2 separate regions of the Homo sapiens genome follow, and region 2 is linked to region 1. Evidence: promoter capture Hi-C in 16 types of primary human blood cells and fetal thymus (Javierre and others, 2016). All regions are on one chromosome and are shown on one strand. The core of a region is centred on a gene start or on the middle of the fragment in contact, and the rest is flanking DNA. Distances in the headings are between cores, read along the strand shown.

Region 1 (4,678 bases), core at 1,518-4,017:
ACACAAAAGATACCAGAAAACTGACAAGAATCTTGAGCACTGATGCACACAAAATGGCTCAGTAATTTTGAGTGATTGATGGATATGAAACCCCTTGAAAATGAAAAGGACTGTGGTTTAAGATGTTTTAGAATGATATGTTCAATAGAAGCCTGCAAAGGAGATGTTACAAAGCAGTTGAAAATCTAGCTTTTTCTTCTTTGCTGATCTCTGTACCCATTTTTCAAACTTACACACCCACATAAGTAAATCTAGTCAACTGGGAAATCTCAAATTTAAAGATTTTACATTTATGTTTATAAACTATACCTAAATTCGAATTTAATTTTTTTTAGGCAACTTAGAATCATAGCAGTATTCTAATGTTTAGAAAATGGCTTTCTGGATTATAATCATATTCTGGCTTATAACTAAAAGAAGCTAGTACTTTTAAATAATGAGAAAGCTAAAATTCATCCATTATTTTTTCACATCAGGTTCATATCACCAAAAGTTTTAATTAGTCCTTATGTATGTTACATTCACTTAAGTATTTGGAATAAAGGACAAAACAAACCAACTCATTAAATTATGTACTAGTTTGCTCTGGGTGGAATTATGCACCCCTCGACATCCAAATTCATATATTGAAGCCTTAACCGCAATGTGATGGTATTTGGAGATGGGCCATTTGAGAGAGAATTAGGTTTAAATTAAGTCATGAGGGTGGGGCCCTCATGATGTGATTAGGGACCTTTTAAGAAAAGGGAGAGAGCTTGACCCTCTTTCTGCCATGTGAGGACACCAAGAAGACAGCCATCTGCAAGCCAAGAAGAGAGCCCTCACCAGAACATAATCATGCTTTTGTTATGGCAGCCAAAGCTGGGTAAGCTGATTTTATATGAAAGAATAAATATGGGGGAGGGGGTGTATAACAAAATGAATGTGATCTTTCCAAATAAAACGCTGATCTTGTTTTGTTGAACAGTTTTTCAGAAACTCCTATAAGTTTATTATCCTTTGCTCTTTTATATAAAAATAGCCATAAAAAGTGGCTATTTTTCCCAAAAGGTTGCTTTATGCCAATTAGAACAAAGTCAGGATTTGCAAATACTTGTGCCTTACAGAAATTGGAATGCATAACGCATACCATGTAAACCTTACACTTCTACACAATTAACTGGAATAATTGGAAATGATTTAAACACTGAAATAATCTCCCGCAAAGAGTCATATTGCAAAGTCCAGTTTTGTCAAAATTTAACAAATTTAGTTCAGTAGTAAGAATGAAAGTAACTCTTTGGAAAACATGACTAAACTGTTTTTATACTGCATACTGGTATAGCTCCTACACTGTATTTCTTGCACAACCTTTTTCTGATAAGCATTTTTACTACAGCCCATAAAGGATACTTAATAAAACATGTAACATGTTTTCTGTTAAAAGATTTGAAAAACCTACAAGAATTCTCCTTGAAAAATGCACTAAAATCAGCTTATTAAAAAGTCTCCAGCCATTTCAAATTACTCTTGATTTAAAAAAAAAAAAAGGCGGTGGGGGGAGGGGAGGAGAGAAAGGTAGTCATTTTGAAAAAATCCACTCAGTGGAAAAGGAAAAAACACACCCAGATCTACATGTTGGTAACAAACGAGGGCCTTACGAATGGTTTTAACTGAAGTAGTTTTAACTCATTAGATGTTAAGGCTTAAAGGAATGTCTATTATTCCAGTAAAGAATTGAGACACGCTTCAACACAGCGATCACTGAAATGAGATGTTTTAAATTACAACTATTACACCATGAACTCAATGTAGAAAGGAATCGTTTCAAATTCAAGAAACGAGATAGAGAGATAGAGAGATAGAGAGAGACAGACAGAGAGAGAGAGAGAGAGAGAGAGAGAGAGAGAGAGAGAGACACACAGAGACATTCAGACAGACAGGGATACAGATCTGGAAGCAGACAGGCCAAATTTGTAACAGTGGATACTGCGAGGGGTGGGGAAGTTAGGAGCGCCCAAAAAGGAGGAAGGGCTTAAACAGGGGCTTTATTCAATCATGACCCATTAAAAACGATGTAAAGGCAGGATTCGCGATTGCACAGCAAAAATATAATAAATAGATGAGGAAGGGGAAAAAATCTCCAAATTCGCCGAAACTCAAAATCATTACACGCGGCCCCCTTTGTCCCACTCAGGCGCCCGCCCCGGTCGCGGAGGGGCCGTTTTGGGGAAGCCCCGCACCCGTCGGAACCGGGAACAAAGCCGCCCCGGCCGCAGGAGGGGTTCTCGGAGCTAGGGCCTGGCCTCGGAGGCGGGCGTGCGGCACACTCTCGCCGGGGCTGCGGCCCGCAGGCTCCCACCGCTGTCACCGCCGCCGGCGAGGAGAGTCTGGGGCTCCAGACAGCCGCCCGGTGAGCCCACCAAAGGCGCGCTCCTCCAGTGGCCGGGACACAGCAAGAAGGGGCTTGGCCGTCTGGCCGCCGCCAGGTGGACGCTGGCGGGCCACGGCCCCGGGCTTTTCCCGGGAAACCCCTCGGTGCAGCCCGACCGGCCCCGGATCCCCGCCGCCGCCGGCGGGCCCCAGGATCTGCCCACCGCTCGGCCTCCGGGAGCCCGGCGAGGCCCCCCTCCACAGACAACGGCCGCCAAGCCACTGCCGCCCGCCCGCGCGCCCGGCCCCCGGCACCCACCTGTTGGTCGCACTCGGGGCATGATTTGGTGGCCATCTTCACTTTCTTGGCTCGAGTTGCAGACATGCTCCTCTCCCTTAGCGGCGGCAGCAGCGACGGCTCGGGCTCCTCCCCTCACACTTCGGCAGCCCGGCCTCCGCCCGCCCAGTCCCCGCGGGCCTCAAACAAGCCTCTGGCGGGTGCGCGCGCGCGCGTGCGCGAGCTCGCGCGGGACCTGGGCGCCAAGGGGGCGGGGCGGAGCGTCGGCCGGCGGCTCCTGGGGACCGCGACACGCGCTCCCACGGCGGCTCGCGACCCACAGCCCGCCCGCGAGCTCGCCCAGAGTATCACGAGACGAGGGGAGACCTCCCCCCCCTCCGCCAGACCGCCCCGGCGCGGCAGTGGCCACGCCTCCTCTCGGCCTGGCCGACTACGAGGGGGCAAGGCCTGGGCGGGACTCGGCAGTAACGGGCGTCGAGTTCGACCAACGAATGCATAGGTAGGGCGGGCCGTAGTGCTGGGCACGCCCCATCCCCACAGAGACCGTGGGAGCGAAGGCTGGGGAATGAATGGTGAAGGGCGTAGCGTGGATCCTGGCATTTAATAAACTTAAGTAGATGTTACCAAGGCTAATCATTGAGAAATTATGATAGACATTTTATGAGACCACTGGACCCAGCAGCAGAGTGAAAATTCATTTATTTATTCAATATATAATTGCCTAAGTCCCACTGTCAGGAAAATTTGAATAAAATGCAGTGTCAGCCTTCAAGGAGCAGCCTAGCTGTGTAAACCAGTGCTACTCACTATCAAGATGAGGGATCAGATGTTTTTCTTTTTCCAATCTGTCCGTGACTGATACTTACTAAATTAACATTAAAATTAAATTATTCGAGGCTGGGCGCAATGGCTCACGCCTGTAATCCCAGCACTTTGGGAAGCCGAGGAGGGCGGATCTCTTGAGCCCAGGAGTTCCAGACCACCCTGGGCAACATAGCGAGACCCCCATCTCTACAAAAAGTAAAAGATTTTTAAAAATTAGCTGAGCGTGGTGGCCCATGCCTGGAGTCCTAGCTAGTAGAGAGGCTGAGGTGGGAGGATCGCTTGAGCCTATGAGATTGAGGCTTCAGTGAGCCGAGATTGTGGCCACTGCACTCCAGCCTGGGCGACAGAGCGAGACTCCGTCTCAAAAAAAAGAAAAAGAAAGAAAAAGTGAAATTTAAAAACAACTATGCAAAACGTAAGCTTACTTTTAAATATTTAATTTGACAGACCCAAAGTTATACTTAATAAACAATCAGAACAAACATAACAGAAAGAAAATTTACAAACTGTACACTTGGCTCAGAGAAAATTTACCAATATGCATTTATTACAGAGACTGGCTATTCCACTGATAACTTTTTATTCAACAATTGTTAACTAAAGCAAAGTTATGAGTTACAATTTTACATAGTAAATGCCTGTAAGCACACTTTGTATAAATAACAGTTATATAAATGTTTAAAGCTTTTAATATGAAACCCACGAAATTGCTTCCTGTTTGGTCCATTTACAGGCATACCTTGGAGGGACTGGGGGTTCAGTTCCAGGCCATTGCAAAAAAGAGAGCCACACTCAATTTTTTGTTGTTGTTTCCCAGTGTATATAATAAACATGTTTCCACTATACTGTAATATATTAAAAGTACAATAGCATTATGTCTAAAAAACAGTGTACACACGTTGATGTTAAAATTGGGCTAAAAATCCTGGGCAAAATGGTGAAACCCGTCTCCACAAAAAATTAAAAAATAGCCATGTGGTGACAGCGTATGCCTGTAGTCCCAGCTACTCAAGAGGTTGAGTTGGAGGATCCACTGAGCCCAGGAGGTCAAGGCTGCAGTGAACCATGATTGCGCCATTGCACTTCAGCCTGGGTGACAGAGAAAATCCCTGTCTCAAAAAAAAAAAAAAAAAAAAAAAGGAGTTAATCTTCACAAACCCTGCCACTGCTTTATCAACTAATATTTATGTAATATTCTAAATC
Region 2 (4,678 bases), core at 1,357-3,856, 170 kb before region 1:
TTCCTTGAGGTCTGTCACATTTCTCAATGCCTTTGAGAGCTGCACACGAACTGTACACAAGTGCTCATCATTCTCCTTCTAGGTGCTCTGGTGCCTGATCAACTCAAACGCCTCTCTCTTTGAGCAGTGTCTATCAGCAGGGGCTGTTTTTGCAGTTCATTAACCTGATGACCACCAATTTCAGGCTTGAGGATGAGTCAGAAACATGAATTTCTAGGCAAAGAAGGGATCATCTGGACTCTAAGAATCACTGGTTTCCTGGGTAGAGGCAGGAAAGGGAGGGTAGGAAAGTCTAACACGGCAGGCATCTCTCATCCAGTCACAGCATCTTCCTAGATGTGTCCCCCCAAACTATCCCCTAGTCTTGGAATTTAATGCCATTCAGCACCAAGCCTGCCCTGGTTCAGCGTTTCCATCCACCTGTGAGGGATTCCCCACCACACCCCAATTAAGGACAGGTACTTTTTTGTAAGACACAATAAAAATTACTAAAAAAGGAGAACAGGGAATAGCAGACACACAAAGCACAAAGCCAAATATTTATTACATCCAATAGACATAAAATTACTCTGTCAAATTGCTATAAAGGGTTTTAAATGCTAAGTCAATTTCTAAATATCTATTTCACTACAGGCAGCCAAGAGTATAACTTGCTTCAGCCCATGGGTCTGAGGAGCCTGGGACTGCAGGCCAAAGCACTGGCCTCAGAAGGCTAAATAAACTATTGGACTTGATGTTCCATGAGAATTCATACAACCCTCTGCAGAACTTCCCCATCCCCAATCCCTCAAAGCTCTTCTTCACTGCTCTCCTGCACAAACCCTTACCATCTTCTGTAACTACAGGTCTGTCTTCACAGCAGACTAACGTTCTTGAAGCTAGAGGCTATGATCTTCTTCACCTTTAGATTCAGTGCCTAACTATATCTGGTACCCAGTTTTTGTTCAACAAAAAAAATCTGTAAGTTAAGGATACTAGCAGTGCTTTTGTTTCACTTTTATTTACTTTTGTTGGTTTATTATTTTTAAAATTGGGTTTACCTCAACCCAGAAAATAAGAGATAATTTACACACTGTACTGACATTACCTTACTTGCAAACCAAGCTCTCCAACTCAAGTGTTCTTGACTCATGTCTTTTCTACTATTCCAGTTGTATTTCACAAAACATGTAAATAATATGGACATGTCAAGCCATAATCAGGTTTATACGGGGTAAACTAACACCTACAAAGAACAGAAAGGGTTTGCTGGACTATGACATACCACAGAATGGCTTAACATTTGATACATTTTAGTGGTACTAATTTTATAACTTTGGGAAACATCTGTTCATGTAAAGCCCAGCAAGGGCTAGTCATCAAGTGCTAGCAATGGGAGGGCAGATGGTGAGGGGTTAAGTGATGTAGTCATTTGAAAATGTCTATAAATTTTCCCTTTAAGAGGTGGAGCTTAATTCTCCTTACCCTTGAATATAGGCTAGACTTAGTGACTCCCCACTTACAGAATAAGGCAAAAATGAGCATGTCACTTCCACAGGGAGGCCACTGAAAGGCACTGTGGTTTCCTTCTTGCTTTCATACTCAGGGGAAAGCCAGCCACCATGCTGTGAGGACACTCTATGGAAGGGCCGTCAAGGAGAGGAACTGGGGCCTCTGCCCTCAAGGAAAGGAACTTAGGCCTCTGCCCTCAAGGAGAGGAACTGGGGCCTCTGCCCTCAAGAAGAGGAACTGGGGCCTCTGCCTAACAGCCAGGTCAGTGAGCAGAAAAGTCAGCCCCAGTCAAAGCATCAGATGACTGCAGCCCCAACCAGTATCTTGTTTGCAACCTTACACCACACTCTTTGCCAGAACCACCAGCTAAGCTGCTCCCAAATTCCTGATCCAGAGACCTGTGAGATAAATGTTTGCTGTTTTAAGACAGTAAGTTTTGGGATGGTTTATTATATAGTAGGTAACTAGTATCGGTGGTGAGCCTTTGGGGGGTTTATGTGAATTCATCATGCCTTGGGAAAAGCAGGGTAAAGTTGAGGAAAGAAAAGGGGTATAAATGACTAAAAGAGTAGATGCTGCCTTGTTCAACAAGTGCTTAAAACTAGAGTTAAGTGAGCTCTGTGAATATATGAGAATGACTATTAAACTCTATAGCCATACTACTAGTACTTTTTATCAATTAAAGATAGTATGAAAGGGGAAAAAAAGCTCCAAAATTGTTAATAGCATCTTTATTGTTTCACTGGTGCAAAAAAAAAAATCATAATTGTGATGCATTTCCTGCTAAATTTACAATGAAGGTGATACATAAATTATATAGATCACAAGTTTTCTTTTATACTATTTAAAACCCAATTATATTGATAAATATGTCCAGAGGACAACATGGGTTCTTAATGGATGGCTGAGTCCAAATATGCAAAATATAGCTTCTGGTTTTGACCATGGTGCTTTAAAATTCTCAAACATGCATTAATATATTCTAGTTTTAGGGAAAATCTTACACATGGCCTTATCTTGCAATTTAGGGGAAAGCCCAAGATGAATTTCACATACAGTATTCCTTTCTTCTAAATTAATCTCAAACTGGACTAGAAAACAAGAGACAGACGCTTTTGGGTTAGTACTCCCCAGGAATGAAGAAAATACACAATCAACAATGAAGCAAACAAACAAACAAAAAAAAGGAGAGCTTCATTAGTAGCCAAGATAAGTGCTTGTGGGTTTTGTGTTTTTTTTTTTTTTTTTTTTTACAGATCACAGGAATTTTAAATTGCAGATCAGTCATGCTACTTGGGGTGATCAGAAAGACTTGAACACTTACCAAGTGAATAATTTTATTAAGGTCCTGAAGGTGAGTGTCCGGAGGTGCTGGGTAAAACACATCACAGGTAAGAAATGGGAAACCTACCTCAGCATTTCTGAAAGGCACAATCTATGGAAGGGAAACCTAGCGTAATAAAACCCTCACTGGATGTACATGGAAAGGAGTATGGTGAGCTATTTCCTTTTTAAAGGATGAGACCTTCATAAATTGGCCCCTCGGATTCTGGTGATTCCCGCCGCAAGCGCAAATGCTCCAGTGTGTTATGAAAATGTTTGTTAATCTGCTCTGTTTCTTCACTGGATTCAAGATTCGGGAGGTCTTCTCGAATCTTTTGGATAAGCTGGTTTAAAACCTGAATTGTTACCTACAAAAGAATATGTACAAATTCATGATCAAGCACGTACCACAAAAAATGAAAGGCAATTTAATAAAACTGTTTTGAGGAGCTTCTGTTACACTCATCAATTACCTGAGTAATTATGAAAAAAGAAAGATGGGGATACAATTCCTAGTTTGAACAATTACTGACTATCAAAAAAAAAAAAAAAAAAACAACCCTTTAAAACAAGCAAAATTGGCTCGGCTCAGTGGCTCATCCCTGTACTCCCAGCACTTTGGGAGGCTGAGGTGGGCAGATCACTTGAAGTCAGGAGTTTTGAGACCAGCCTGGCCAACATGGTGGAACCCCATCTCTAGTAATAATACAAAAATTAGCTGGGCGTGGTGCCGGGCGCCTATAATACCAGCTATTCAGGAGGCTGAGGCATGAGAATTGCTTGAACCTGGGAGGCAGAGGTTGCAATGAGCTGAGATTGCCACTGCACTCCAGCCTGGGTGACAGAGCCAGACTCTGTCAAAAAAAGAAAAACAAGCAAAATTTTATTTAACTTACAAATCTTGACCAAAACTGTATTGCTAAAAGGATACTGCGTTTAGGAATTATTATTATTATTATTTTTGAGACGGAGTTTCACTCTTGTTGCCCAGGCAGGAGTGCAATGGCACAGTCTTGGCTCACTGCAGCCTCCACCTCCCAGGTTCAAGCGATTCTCCTGCCTTAGGCTTCCAAGTAGCTGGGATTACAGGCGCCTGCCACCACGCCTAGCTAATTTTTGTATTTTTAGTAGAGATGGGGTTTCACAATGTTGGCCAGGCTGGTTTCAAACTCCTGACCTCAGGTGATCTGCCTGCCTCAGCCTCCCAAAGTGCTGGGATTACAGGCATGAGCCACCACGCCCAGCCTAGGAATTATCTTAAACTAGAACATTATGACAAATTAGCCTATTATTTGACATCTGTAAATTATTTTACATTTTTCAAATGAACAGTGATTAAAGTATCAGAATGATAAACTTTTGTACATATCAAATCTCCTAAGAGTAGGAAGGGAAAATATTAGTTTATTAACAACACTTTACTAATTCACTTACCGCATCATTTTCCTTTTCATAAAAATAGATATATCTGTTCAGAATTTCTATAAAAAGCTGCACTTGTAGAGAGGGGTCCATGCACTGATTTGCTATTTTTAGAGCTTTTTTTAGGCACTCCATTACCCTCTTGCCTCCGTGAAGCTAAAATAAAAGGGCAGGGGGACAGTGAAGAGATTAATGAAACATCTCGTTTTCATACAAAGAAACACAACACTACCGTGGCTCTTTCGTGTTTTAAAGGGACATAACAAATTTAAATCCTTTTCATTCTCCTTCTTCTTGTTTTGAAGTATACAGCTGTATTTTTTTAAAAACAGGTAGTGGTTTGAACTTGCTATGTTACAATATCCTCAAAGCAGAGGCTTCACTACAGGATGAGACTCTCTTTTTTAACAAAACAAAGCAATTTTGTTCATCAGATTTCCAA

The links. The method cuts DNA at HindIII sites, captures the fragments that hold promoters and counts their contacts. A CHiCAGO score of 5 or more calls a contact.
Region 2: a contact is called between a fragment that was not itself captured here and the fragment with the promoter of C16orf87 in region 1, in 1 of 17 cell types (neutrophils). The highest score is 6.0, in neutrophils.

Annotation. Positions count from the first base shown.
Region 1 is chr16:46,828,413-46,833,090 of GRCh38, forward strand. It overlaps C16orf87 (chromosome 16 open reading frame 87), which reads right to left and starts at 2,768. Exons shown (of 4, transcript NM_001001436.4): 1 at 2,672-2,768. The coding sequence starts at 2,737. RefSeq lists a silencer at 2,465-3,114. The HindIII fragment of the contact is 5,874 bases long and covers 1-3,893 here.
Region 2 is chr16:46,657,470-46,662,147 of GRCh38, forward strand. It overlaps VPS35 (VPS35 retromer complex component), which reads right to left. Exons shown (of 17, transcript NM_018206.6): 16 at 4,249-4,392; 17 at 1-3,182. The coding sequence ends at 3,003. Among named protein-coding and RNA genes, the nearest start is that of VPS35, 29 kb to the right of the region's middle. The HindIII fragment of the contact is 9,807 bases long and covers 1-4,678 here.